Regions from separate parts of the Homo sapiens genome. Here all the other regions are linked to region 3. Evidence: promoter capture Hi-C in 16 types of primary human blood cells and fetal thymus (Javierre and others, 2016). All regions are on one chromosome and are shown on one strand. Each heading gives the region's core, a stretch centred on a gene start or on the middle of the fragment in contact. The rest is flanking DNA. Distances are from core to core; before and after follow the strand shown.

Region 1 (2,976 bases), core at 213-2,712, 2.6 Mb after region 3:
TAATCTTAGCTGCAGGGATGAATCCATTTGTTTAACTGAGAAGTCTTACTGAGGCTTTGCTTTTTCAGTCTTATTTCCTTCCTACTGTTTGTAGTCTGGAGAAATAGTTTTTGAAACCTACAAAAGCCCCCAGATTTCTGGACTTTCTCTAAGCCAAGGTATTTAACTGAATGTCAGAATAAAGGTATGCTTTATTTTGCTTATAACTGACTAATTTTCTGAGCTCACTTCTTTCTTGTATTATTTGCTGAACACAGCAAGGAGCAAATAACGTTAATTTTCTGGCTCTTTCCAGCCACTTCCTCTAGAGAAGGGCTTCTTAACTTCAGGGTTATCATGATGCAGATAACTCTCTGTTGTGGGGGGCTGTACTGGATATTAAAGGAGTCTTAGCAACATCTCTTGTCTCTACCTGCCACTTCCTCCCTGCTCCAGTATGACAACCAGAAATGTCTCCACACATTGCCAGATGTCCCCTGGGGGCAAAATTGTGCCTGTATGAGAATCACCGCTCTAGAATCACAAGCTTAGAGTCAGTCTGCTTTCCGAGTTATTGAAAGTAATATTTACAACATGTTTCTTACCACTATTCCATCTTTCCAGTGCCTGCTAGTTATTTCCTTGACGCATATTTCCTACTCACTAATATAATGCCACATATTTGATTATCACAACAGCAGCCCACTTCAAGATACCTATTTCTCTGTTGATTTGGGTAACTGTAGCTGATGAAACCCCCACATTTTAGAGGCTTAACACAGTAAGTGTTGTTTGTCTTTTTCTCTTAGTGGTCTTATGATATAAAGCTTTGTCAAAGCATGACTTTTTTCAAGTGATTCTTGGACCCAAGTGCTTTCCATCTTGTGATTTTGCATCTGCTAAACACTTAGAATCCTTTGCATCCAGTTGGCAGTTGGGAAAAGAGAGAATACACAGTGCACACTTGTTCCTTAATGCCCTTCTTTCAGAAGCCATATACATTCTTTCAGTTCACTTTCTATTGGTGAAAACTAGTCACCTGGCCCTACCTTGATGTGGGGTGGGGGTGGGATGGGTGATGGGAATGACTCCCTAACTAGGCAGCTGTTTCACAATGACAACTTTATATAATCAAAAGGGAGGCACAAATGTTGTTGAATAATTAGCCCTTTGTGAAACAAAAATAGGTACATTAGGGCAGTTATTCTCATAGAACCCATTCAGGGAGCTTTTATAAAAAATATCAGTACATGAGTCTTACTCGCAGAGGATCTGATTTACTTGGTCTAAAGTGACTATGGTGTATCTTTTATTTATTTTTTTTAAGTTCCCAGATATCTCAAATAATGCAGCCAGAGTTGAGAACCACAAGATTGCCCATTTTCAGGGCAAACAAAGTAGACGTAGGAACAAGAGAATAATGGGTTTCTTTGATGAACCATGAAATCAAGACTAGGCATAAAATAATAATGGGGAAACTAAATAAGTGCCGTATTACTAATGTTTTTCCACTCCAAAACTCATGTTAAAATTTAATTGCGAATCTGATGGTAGTGTAATTTCTAGGTGATTAGGCCATGAGTGCTCCACTCTCGTCAATGAATGAACACTATTATGAAAAGGACTTTTGGGAGTGAGCACTCTCTCACTCTTCTGTCTTCCACCATGTGATGACTCAGCAAGAGGGCCCTCACCAGATGCCAGGGCCTTGGTTTTGAACATCCCAGCCTCCAGAACTGTGATGAAATAAATTTCTGTCCTTTATGAATTCCCCAGTCTCAGGTATTCTGTTATAGTAGCACAATGGACTAAGACAGAAATTGGTACCAAAGGAGTGGGGTGTTGCTATAACAAATATCTGAAAATGTGGAAGCAGCTTTTGAATAGTTTTGACGTGACTGCTGGAAAAACGCTGTGTTGCCAAAAATGGAGCATTAAGGGCAATATGGGTAACAGCTCAGATGGAAATAAGGAATATCTTATTGGAAACTAGAGGAAGAGCCATCTTTTTATGAAGTAGCAAAAAACTTGCCTGAATTGTGTCTATGCCCCAGGGCTTTATAGAAGGTAGCATTTAAGAGGAATGAACTAGGATATCTGGCAAAAGATTTCTAAGCAGCAAAATATTGAGAGGACTGTGAAGCTTCTCTCTCTCTTTTTTTTTATACTTTAAGTTCTAGGGTACATGTGCACAACGTGCAGGTTTGTTACATATGTATACTTGTGCCATGCTGGTGTGCTGCACCCATTAACTCATCATTTACATCAGGTATATCTCCTACTGCTATCCCTCCCCATGACAGGCCCCAGTGTGTGATGTTCCCCTTCTTGTGTCCAAGTGTTCTCATTGTTCAATTCCCACCTATGAGTGAGAACATGCAGTGTTTGGTTTTTTGTCCTTGTGATAGTTTACTGAGAATGATGGTTTCCAGCTTCATCCATGTCCCTACAAAGGACATGAACTCATCCTTTTTATGGCTGCATAGTATTCCATGGTGTATATGTGCCACAATTTCTTAATCCAGTCTATCATTGATGGACATTTGGGTTGGTTCCAAGTCTTTGCTATTGTGAACAGTGCTACAGTAAACATGCGTGTGCATGTGTCTTTATAGCAGCATGATTTATAATCCTTTAGGTATATACCCAGTAGTGGGATGGCTGGGTCAAATGGTATTTCTAGTTCTAGATCCTTGAGGAATCGCCACACTGACTTCCACAATGGTTGAACTAGTTTACAGTCCCACCAGCAGTGTAAAAGTGTTCCTATTTCTCCACATCCTCTCCAGCACCTGTTGTTTCCTGACTTTTTAATGATCGCCATTCGAACTGGTGTGAGATGGTATGTCACTGTGGTTTTGATTTGCATTTCTCTGATGGCCAGTGATGACGAGCATTTTTTCATGTGTCTGTTGGCTGCGTAAATGGAGGATTGTGAAGCTTCTCTTAAGCACACATAGTAAAATGCAAGAAGAGAAATTATTTAATAATGGAATT
Region 2 (3,186 bases), core at 68-2,567, 2.0 Mb after region 3:
ATTGATTGTTGAACATCATCATCCACCAAATTACTGATGCTAAAACACTTTGAGTCATCAGTGACTGCTCTGTAATCCCCACTATTAGTCCGGAATGAAGACCTTTTTTTGCTTCTGAAATATACCAAAAGCATACTGTTTTTTCTGCCTTTTTGTGTTCTCATTGCTTTGGTTCAGGCTTTCATCATCTGTAGCCCAGATGTTCATAGTACATTCCTCATTAATCTCCCTGCCTGTTTTCTCCTCCTCATCCCCAGTTAACAACATTTCTGTCATTTGTCATTATCCATCATCTCTCCCACAAAATTAAAGCTTTAGCATCTCTTCATAGCTTACATAATAAATTCTTAATTTTTCATAACCTAGACCCTATATGCCTCACCAGCTTCATCCCTAACTTGTCTTCTGTTTTTTCCTTTCCCATCCTTTGCTCTGGCTACTTTGAAATACATTTATTCCTGGAACCTGCCATCTGTATTAGTTTTCTTGTCGCCTTAACAAATTGCCATGAACTTAGCTTTAAATATTTGTTATCTCAGTTTTCTGTAGGTCGGAAATCTGTGTAGGCTTATCTGGGTCCTCTGTTTAGAGCCTTACAAGGCTGAAATCAAGGCTTTGCTTGGGGCTCTGTTCTTTACTAGAGGCTCTGGGGAAGATCTGCTTCCAAGCTCATTAAGATTCTTAGCCAAATTCAGTTCCTTGTCATTGCAGTACTGAGATTCTGTTGCTTTGCAGACTTTTACTTGAGGACAGTCTTTGCTCCTAGAAACTGTCCTCCTTCCTTCATGTTTCCCTTATTGTCTCCTACGGTAACAGTAGGTAGTCTCTCATGTTTCTTTTTTTTTTTTATTTTTTATTGTTTTTTTGGAGACAGAGTCTCACTCTGTCACCAGGCTGGAGTGCAGTGGCGGGATCCCGGCTCACTGCAACCTCCGCCTCCTGGATTCAAGCTATTGCTATTCTCTTGCCTCAGCCTCCTGAGTAGCTGGGACTACAGACGCGCCCAGCTAGTTTTTGTATTTTTAGTAGGGACGAGGTTTCACCATGTTGGCCCAGATGGTCTCAATCTCTGGACCTCGTGATCCACCCGCCTTGGCCTCCCAAAGTGCTGGGATTACAGGCATGAGCTACCGCGCCTGGCCAAGTCTCTTATGTTTCAAATCTCTCTGAGTTCTGTTGTTACATTTCTCTAACCACAGCGGGAGAAAATTTTCTGGTTATGTTATCAGATTGGGCCCACTCAGATAATGAAAAGATGGTTTTGATATTGAATTTGTTAATCGTCTTTTAGATGTTTCTTCATCTGTATCTTTTAAAATACACCTACCTCATACTTTGTGTGAAGTTTAAATGAAATATCTTTGCTTTATTTGGGATGCTGTGGCATTTCCTTTTTTTGAAAGTTGTGTTTAATCACTAATATTGCAACAATTCTATGTGTTAATGATTCTCTAGGTAAAAGAAATATTTTTGACATCGTAGGCTAAACAGGCATTTGTAAATTAGTTGAGGAACATTTTTTGTTTCAGTTGGGATATATATTGTAAGTATCCTAAAAATCTCAGAATGAACCTGTTTTGTAAACTGGACTGATTGTACAGTAAAATACCAAGTAGGTAATGATATCCAAATACCAGCTTAAATCCTAACCTATAATGGGTGCTGAAAAGTGTTTACTGAAATAAAAGTAACTAAATAGTGTGATGTCTTTTAAGAATTTTAGTACTCTGTAATCACTAACCTAGAAGCCTCTTTATTATAAGATACTGTGTCTCGATGATAACGAAAATTTTTAATTAATGGTTAAAGCAACTGATAAGGTTCTACACATCAGAGTATAGCAGGTTGGCAATTTAAGAAAATTAAGTTGCATGACATTCAAACAACATAGATTTTAAAAAGCAAAAAAAAAAAAAAAAAAATGACTGAAGCCCACAGTAGAGCAAAAATCAGTTGCAGTAAGTTTCTTATTCAAAAATAAGCACAAAACAAAATATCCATTTACAAAGTTCTAACAGGAACACAAAATCTAAGAATTAGATATTAATCCTTCAACTATAATATTGTATCTAGTTCTGATCTTTACACCCATGAAAGGAAACTTTTAAAAAGTTCAAAAAAATGACAAATTACTAGCAAAGAATAAGAAATATTAAGAAGGCAGATTTATTCACCGAGAATCAGAAAAATTTTAGCACAGCATGTTACTAATAGAGCTAAATTCTGCTTGAGTGCAACATCAGTGGTTTTAAGGAATAAAAGAGAAGTGAGACAAGCAGGGAGGAGACGGAGAGGAGAAATAAACAAGATAAAAAGTAACCTTTAAGCTTTTATGCCTTTAGAGCATGATGCGGTGAACTATTTAAGCAATGTCCCAGGATAATTATTATAATCCATTATCCTTTTATAGTGTTTTAATCCAACGATACTTACTTTCCAAATGGGAAGGAAAGACACAGAAATCACTATCCCCTTCTCACCCAGAAAAAAAATAAAGGCTGTGAGATATGAACAAAGACCAAGAGAGTTCAGAAAAGACATTTGTTGGGGATAGGGATAAGTGTGTTGGGGAGGTTAAAGGAGAGGAAAACCTCTCAGAGGAAAAACGAAATAATAGATAATCTGAGTTTTAAAGAATGAGCACAGTTCTATAAGAAGAAAAGTTCAACAAGAGTACAGCATGTGAAAGGTTTATAAACGTGACATGATTTTTTTTTTTTTTTTTTTGAGACAGTCTCACTCTGTCACCCAGGCTGGAGTGCGGTGGCATGATCTTGGCTCACTACAACCTCTGCCTCCCAGGTTCAAGCAATTCTCCTGCCTCAGCCTCCTGAGTAGCTGGGATTACAGACACATGCCACCACACCTGGCTAATTTTTGTATTTTTAGTAGAGACAGGGTTTAACCATGTTGGCCAGGATGGTCTCGATCTCTTGACCTCGTGATCCGCCCACCTCAGCCTCCCAAAGTGCTGGGATTACAGGTGTGAGCCACCGTGCCTGGCAAACCTGACATGATTTTTATTGCTTCATCAAGGACATTGTGGCTTAGTTTTTCTTACTGGGAATTTATGACAGTGAAGAATACAATGCCTAAAATAGTAGTTTAGTGTTACTACCTTGATTTGAGCTAAAATTAGGAATTTTACCCAACATTGCTTTTGCATGATCATTGGCAAACTTCAAC
Region 3 (3,119 bases), core at 53-2,552:
CTATTAGACTGCCACTGCGCCTGGCTATTAATCAGATTTTAAAATAAAGTTAAAAAAAATTTTTAAACAAATTTACACGAAAAGCAAGTACAGTGGTTCTCGAACATGATTGGGCGACAGACTGTACAGCTTGCCAGAAATAGGTTTCTCTCATGAAAATTCAACCCCCTCCACACACGGCCATCTACTTTCTTCTTCAGCAGGGACTGACACCAGGGCAACCGTATTTTCCTAAATACCTTAGGAAAGTAGTTCAAAACCTAGATATATCTTGGTCAGAACAAAACCTGGCAAACACTCATGATAAACGGTATATATAATTCCTTAAACGAAATATAGAGGTTTGTAATATAAAATAATCCATCTTTGTCTGTGGAATTCCTACTAATGAAATACGTTCTTGGAGACCCAAAGACTGAAGTTATACCACTTCTTCTTAATCTTTTAAATATTATTTGCAGGCCAGGCATGGTGACACGCTCCTATAGTCCCAGCTCCTCAGGAGGCTAAGGCAGGAGCATCGTTGGAGCCCAGGAGCTCCAGGCTGTAGCGTGCTGACAGCACTTGTGAATAACCTCTGCACTCAGCCTGGGCAACATAGTGGGACCCCATCACTAATAAAAAAGCGAGATCAACATTATTTATTCTGTTACTCGGGCATAAAATAAATATTAAGCACTTACTACATGCCAGAGTCTATTATGTCTGCTGCAGATATTGGCTGTCATAGAGTTATAACTAACAGGAAACCAAATAATTACGTAGTATAATTTTAAGTGGTGATAAGCACGATTGTTTCCCCCAAGCCATGCCCTTAATTTCTAACTCTTCAGATAGTGTTTCTTTAAAAAATTTCTTGCTAATTTAAAATAACTTTTGTTTTGAGGCAGGATCCCACTCTGTTGCTTAGGCTGGAATGCAGCGGTGAGATCTCGGCTCACTGCAGCCTCCATCTCCAGGGCTCAAGCCATTCTCCCGCCTCAGCCACCCGCGTAGCTGGACCACAGGCGCGCGCCACCAGATCTCAGTTCTCTCAACAGGACTCTCATTGCTAAGATCCAAGGATCCATTAATTTCCTTTTCCTTAACTCTTCTAGCCTCTGCAGCTTTCTTTCCTCATCCACTTTTTAAACAAACGCAGGCTTAAAAAGCAAGGAATATACCCGCCACACTCTCGGCTCCCAAACCGCTCTTTCCCTCCCTCTGCCGGCCACGCCTCTTATAGGCCCGGAAGTTTACCCCACCCTGCACCGTGATTCACCGGAAGCGCTCTAGGGAACCCTGGAGCTTCCGCGCCTGCCCAGTTTTGCTCCGAAAGACTTACCGAGGAGGGAGCTTGCGGTGCGTTCTGGGAAAGTTGCTGGGCCAGCTCCTTTGTTTCCAGTCTGAGCGTTGCGTTCGGTTTCCCGAGGGTCTTCTGAGGCACCGCGGCTGCGGGCTTCTGAGTTCCCGGCTCTCCGCAGGGAAGCCTCCTCTTCGTACCTCGTTTTTTGGCTCGTGGGGGGTCCTCCCACCGCTGGCCGACGCAGCCAGCATGTCCGGGGTGCGCGCAGTGCGGATCAGCATCGAATCGGCCTGCGAGAAGCAGGTCCATGAGGTGGGCCTGGATGGCACCGAGACGTACCTGCCCCCGCTGTCCATGTCGCAGAATCTGGCGCGTCTGGCCCAGCGGATAGACTTCAGCCAGGGTTCGGGCTCCGAGGAGGAGGAGGCGGCGGGGACCGAGGGCGACGCGCAGGAGTGGCCGGGCGCCGGGTCCAGCGCAGACCAGGACGACGAGGAAGGTAAGGCCTGCATCCGCTGCCCGAGTCCCCCGGTCTGGGTCCCAGCACCCGCGCGGGCCTCCGCCTCTCCCGCGATGGGGGTGATCTTGTGCGTGCGAGAACTTTTGAGTGTCCCTCTAGCGGAAGCGTAAGGATACTTGGTCGTCATCTTTTTGTTGCTGCCGGACAAGGTAGGACACGACTTTACGTAATACTCCTGCGGGTCTCCTTGAATGGCAGCGTTTAGAGACACTGTCAAACCGTGAAATGTTTAAATGAATGCTTCTCTGTAGAGGGCCTTTAATGTAGCACACTTAGTGGCTAAAAGAGCCCTAGATCGGGGCTCTGCCCCTTGCCGGCTGTGTGACCTTGGGCGAGTTACTTTGCATCCTTGTGCGGTGTGAATGATGATAGTAGCACCTGCAGAAAAGAGGTCTGTTTTGACTGAAATGTGTGACGAGGTCCAAGAGGTAGGCGGGTCCAGATCATGTAGAACCCAGTAGGCCGGGATAAGCGTTTGACTAGTGTTAAGACCACTGAAAGCTTTTGCAGGATAAGTAGAGATGGTTTTGTTAAAGTTTACTCTAGATGCTTTCTAATAAATGAATTATAGGGAAAGCAAAACTGGAAGGGAGGAGACTAGGAGGGAAGTGAAGAAATAATGAGTGGGTTTCAGATTCTCATTATTGTCAAGGATTTTTGAAAAAAAAATCAAAATTCTTAATTTAGTTATGCAGCACACCCAGTGTAAATGGGAATTTAAAGATGTCATTTCAGGGCAGTGCTGTTAGGATTATTAGGGGTCTATTTGCAAAAAAAGGTAAATACTACTTTATACCTCACACAAAAATTATTTCCACAGTAATTTTTGAGGATTGAAGTGCCAAATGAAGAAAGTAAAACAAAGTGTTAGAAGAAATAATGAAAGAATAGTTGTATTATTCTGGGAGTCGGATAGATCTTCTTAATTTCGGAAATAACAGGACAGGCATGGTGGCTCACACCTGTAGTTCCAACATTTTTGGAGGCCAAGGTGGAAGGATCACTTGAGCCCAGACTTCAAGACCAGCCTGAGCAACATAGGGAGCTCCTGCCTCTACAAATTAAAAAAATTAGCTGGGCGTGGTGGTGCACGTCTGTGGTCCCAGCTACTGGGGAGGCTGAGGGAGGAGGATGGATTCAGCCAGTGAGATCAAGGCTGCAGTGAGCTATGATTGTGCCACCGCACTCCAGCCTGGGTAACAGAACAAGACTCTAACATCCACACACACAACCACACACCTACCTACCTTACAAAGTATAGATATATTACTTACATAAAATTTAAAAATAATGGGAAAAGATGCCATAAGCAAA
Region 4 (2,825 bases), core at 267-2,766, 2.1 Mb after region 3:
CCTTACAGATTTTCTAGATCAAGCTTCTTATTTTAAAAGATGAGAAAACTGTAGACTAGAAAGTCTAAATGAAAAGACCAAAGAGCTAGCTCAGCCAGAGACTTCAGCATGGGAGCTTCCTAACTTCCAGTACTTCCTTCTTTCTAACATACTGTGCTGCTTCATGTGGTTCTAACTTCTCTGCCTTGGATGAGAGTACTGGTTGCCTCTTATGCTATTCTGAGGCATAGTTGTCATTTGTAACTTTCCCATAAAATTCGAATTTTCCAACCTGTTTTCTGAATGAATTACACAACTGAACATGTTAATCCTCAGCTTTCCAAATTTCAAAGCAATAAATACAGAATTCAAAAAATACTTGATTCAAACGTGCAATATATATAATCAAACTGCAAAGAAAAATCCTCCTTTCCTGGATAATTCAGGCTACAAATTCGAAAAAAAAAAAACCATTTAGTGAGCACCTATCACATGCTGAGACTATGTTAAGTGCTGGAGATATGAAGATGATTAAGATTGCCCTCAAGTATAATAGCTTATAACCTGGTAGAAAAGGCACTTTAAGCCAACAATTATAGTGTGCTTATTAAAGACTCTGAAAAACGACTGTGCAGGGAGCTATGAGTGCATATGGCAATGTAGAATGACGGGATCAGACAGTGGTTCCCCAGTGAGGTGCTGAACATCAACAGGAAAAAAGGCAATAACTACCCATATTTAGCAGAATCCAAAATGAATTATAATAGAGCCACTTCAACTGATTGAAGGAGAAAATGAAAATTGTGTGTTTTCACACAGCAGTTATCGAATCACTCTCTAATAACAATTAGACTATTATTCAGTGGAAAAGAACCAGATTTCATCGTGGCTGCATAAAAAGCAAATACAGGTCTTATATTATTTTTTAAAAAATTTTTAAATCATTATTTTAAAATCAAAGAAAAAGACTGCATCCAAAACGCGTCTAGTTAATATTCATAAAAGCTCTCTGCAAAGCTGCATAAAGTCCTCCTCAAAATTCCAGGATAAAATTCCCATCTGTTACAAGAGAAATGACAACGTGGAGAACCAGTAGCCCAAGAAGGAAGAAAACTACCACTCATTTTGTTTTCTTAAACCTATCACTGGGGATAAAAACCACTCAGATTCCTTGATACTGACTTTCAGCTGGAAGATTTAGAAAAGAGAAGCACAGGAGACATTTTTATTTACATATTTAAGCAAAAAGGGAGGCGAGAAGAAAATCAGAGTGTAGAGAAAAGCATGAAAGAAATTAAGAAGGTGAAGCCATGAAAAGAGAGAAAAGGGCTGGGCAAGAACCCAAAAACCAAAGACATAAGAAGGGGTGGAGGAGGAAAGACTGACTTTAGGATGGTTTTGGAAAAAGTGACAGAGAAAGACAGGAAATGTGGGGAAAAGAATGGGGGCGGGGGGAACTGTCTTAAAAAAGGTTTGAGAGGGAATGAAAGACAGGAGAAAGTAATTAACTGGGACCACCTCCATCGGGGAGAAAACGAGATCGGAATATGAAAGGTAGAGGAATCGATAAAGAAGCAGCGAGTTTTAACCTCCTTTTCCTCAGCCTCCACGCCCCAGGGAGGGAGGCAGAAGTGGTTCCCAAGTCCCGGGGAAGGAATTCCGGCGTAGCCTTCAGAAACCAGAATCCGCGAATTGGGGCAACAATCCAGCAGGTCCCCGGCCCCTCTCCATCCCCTTCGGACGCTGGGCGGGGCCCTGGGCGTCCTGGTTACCTGGACAAGGAGTCCACGCTGGGCGGCCGAGCCGCCGCCGGCTGGGAGCCAAGACTCTCGCAGCTCGAGCTCTTCTCCATCGCGCGGCAGGGGCAGCACAGGGAAAGGCTGAAGCAGTCTTCGCGGCTACAGGGCGGGAGAAGCGGAGGGCGGAGTGCTACGGACCGGGGCCGCAGTCAGGCCAGCGCCGGCCCGGGAGGGAGACCGGAAGCGGCCATGTTCCCCCAGAGTGCACCGCGCCTGTAGGCTGCTGGGCAGCGGGAAGACCCCACTGCGCAGCTCAGACGCCGGCATCGACTCTCCGTGCTGGCTGTGTCCGGCCGCGCGACATCTGGTCTTGGGGAAAGGGAGGTGGCGGCTCCCAGGGTGAGGGGGTCTGGTGAAGCGGGAGGGATGAAGGACCAGACCCTTATGGAAGGAGGAGAAATCCTAGGTGTAAGAGGAATGAGGGAACACTAAACATGAGGGTCTCAGGAAGGCGATAAGGACCTGAGGCCAGGAGGATGATTTAGACAGGAATGTGGGGGTCAAGGAAAACAAGAGGACCGGATAATGAGAGAAAAGTGAGAAAGAGGTATGGGAGAGGGATTGGGGAGGATCTGATATACATGCAAAAAGAATTATATACTACTGGATGCGGTGGTGTTGGATTACCCAAGTAGAAGACAAACTTTCACCGATTTTTCCCTGCCCTTTCAAATTCCCGTGCCTAGCAGGAAGGGAGTGTGGAGGAATAGAACTGTGATAAGAGAACAGGAACTGGGTAAAGGGGAAATGCTTCTGCTAGGATTTTTCTGTTAGGATACAGGAAAGCCATAAGGACACCATAAAGGGATTTTTCTGATTGAGATTGAATCCTAATCATCTCATGTATGGGGTGTAAAATTATGCAAAGATTATTCCTGTAAAAAAAAAATCAGACCATCCTTAAAAAACTTCCTTGCTAGGATAAATTGAATTATATTGATTTAAACTAGATTTAATTTATAATGTACAACTGATGTCTTTTAAAAAACCTTATAGTTGCAGTGCAGTATTAACTTGCAAGTACATTCCCAAGAAGAACAACCTAGC

Evidence for each region. Contacts are between HindIII fragments. The CHiCAGO score rates a contact against its expected background, and 5 or more counts as called.
Region 1: a contact is called between a fragment that was not itself captured here and the fragment with the promoter of MED17 in region 3, in 1 of 17 cell types (total CD8 T cells). The highest score is 5.1, in total CD8 T cells.
Region 2: a fragment that was not itself captured here is called in contact with the fragment with the promoter of MED17 in region 3 in 1 of 17 cell types (total CD4 T cells); the score reaches 6.1 in total CD4 T cells.
Region 4: a contact is called between a fragment that was not itself captured here and the fragment with the promoter of MED17 in region 3, in 2 of 17 cell types (non-activated CD4 T cells and total CD4 T cells). The highest score is 5.7, in non-activated CD4 T cells.

The regions. Positions count from the first base shown.
Region 1 is chr11:96,396,406-96,399,381 of GRCh38, forward strand. No RefSeq gene overlaps it. Among named protein-coding and RNA genes, the nearest start is that of JRKL, 7.9 kb to the left of the region's middle. The HindIII fragment of the contact is 1,316 bases long and covers 805-2,120 here.
Region 2 is chr11:95,799,548-95,802,733 of GRCh38, forward strand. All of the region lies in intron 2 of CEP57 (centrosomal protein 57), which reads left to right. Among named protein-coding and RNA genes, the nearest start is that of CEP57, 11 kb to the left of the region's middle. The HindIII fragment of the contact is 2,015 bases long and covers 311-2,325 here.
Region 3 is chr11:93,782,980-93,786,098 of GRCh38, forward strand. It overlaps MED17 (mediator complex subunit 17), which reads left to right and starts at 1,303. Exons shown (of 12, transcript NM_004268.5): 1 at 1,303-1,784. The coding sequence starts at 1,535. RefSeq lists enhancers at 1,124-1,418, 1,360-1,579 and silencers at 1,710-1,839, 1,841-2,035. The HindIII fragment of the contact is 2,360 bases long and covers 1-2,304 here.
Region 4 is chr11:95,922,124-95,924,948 of GRCh38, forward strand. MTMR2 (myotubularin related protein 2) reads right to left here and starts at 1,984. Exons shown (of 15, transcript NM_016156.6): 1 at 1,752-1,984. The coding sequence starts at 1,831. RefSeq lists enhancers at 1,962-2,011, 2,072-2,201. The HindIII fragment of the contact is 2,990 bases long and covers 22-2,825 here.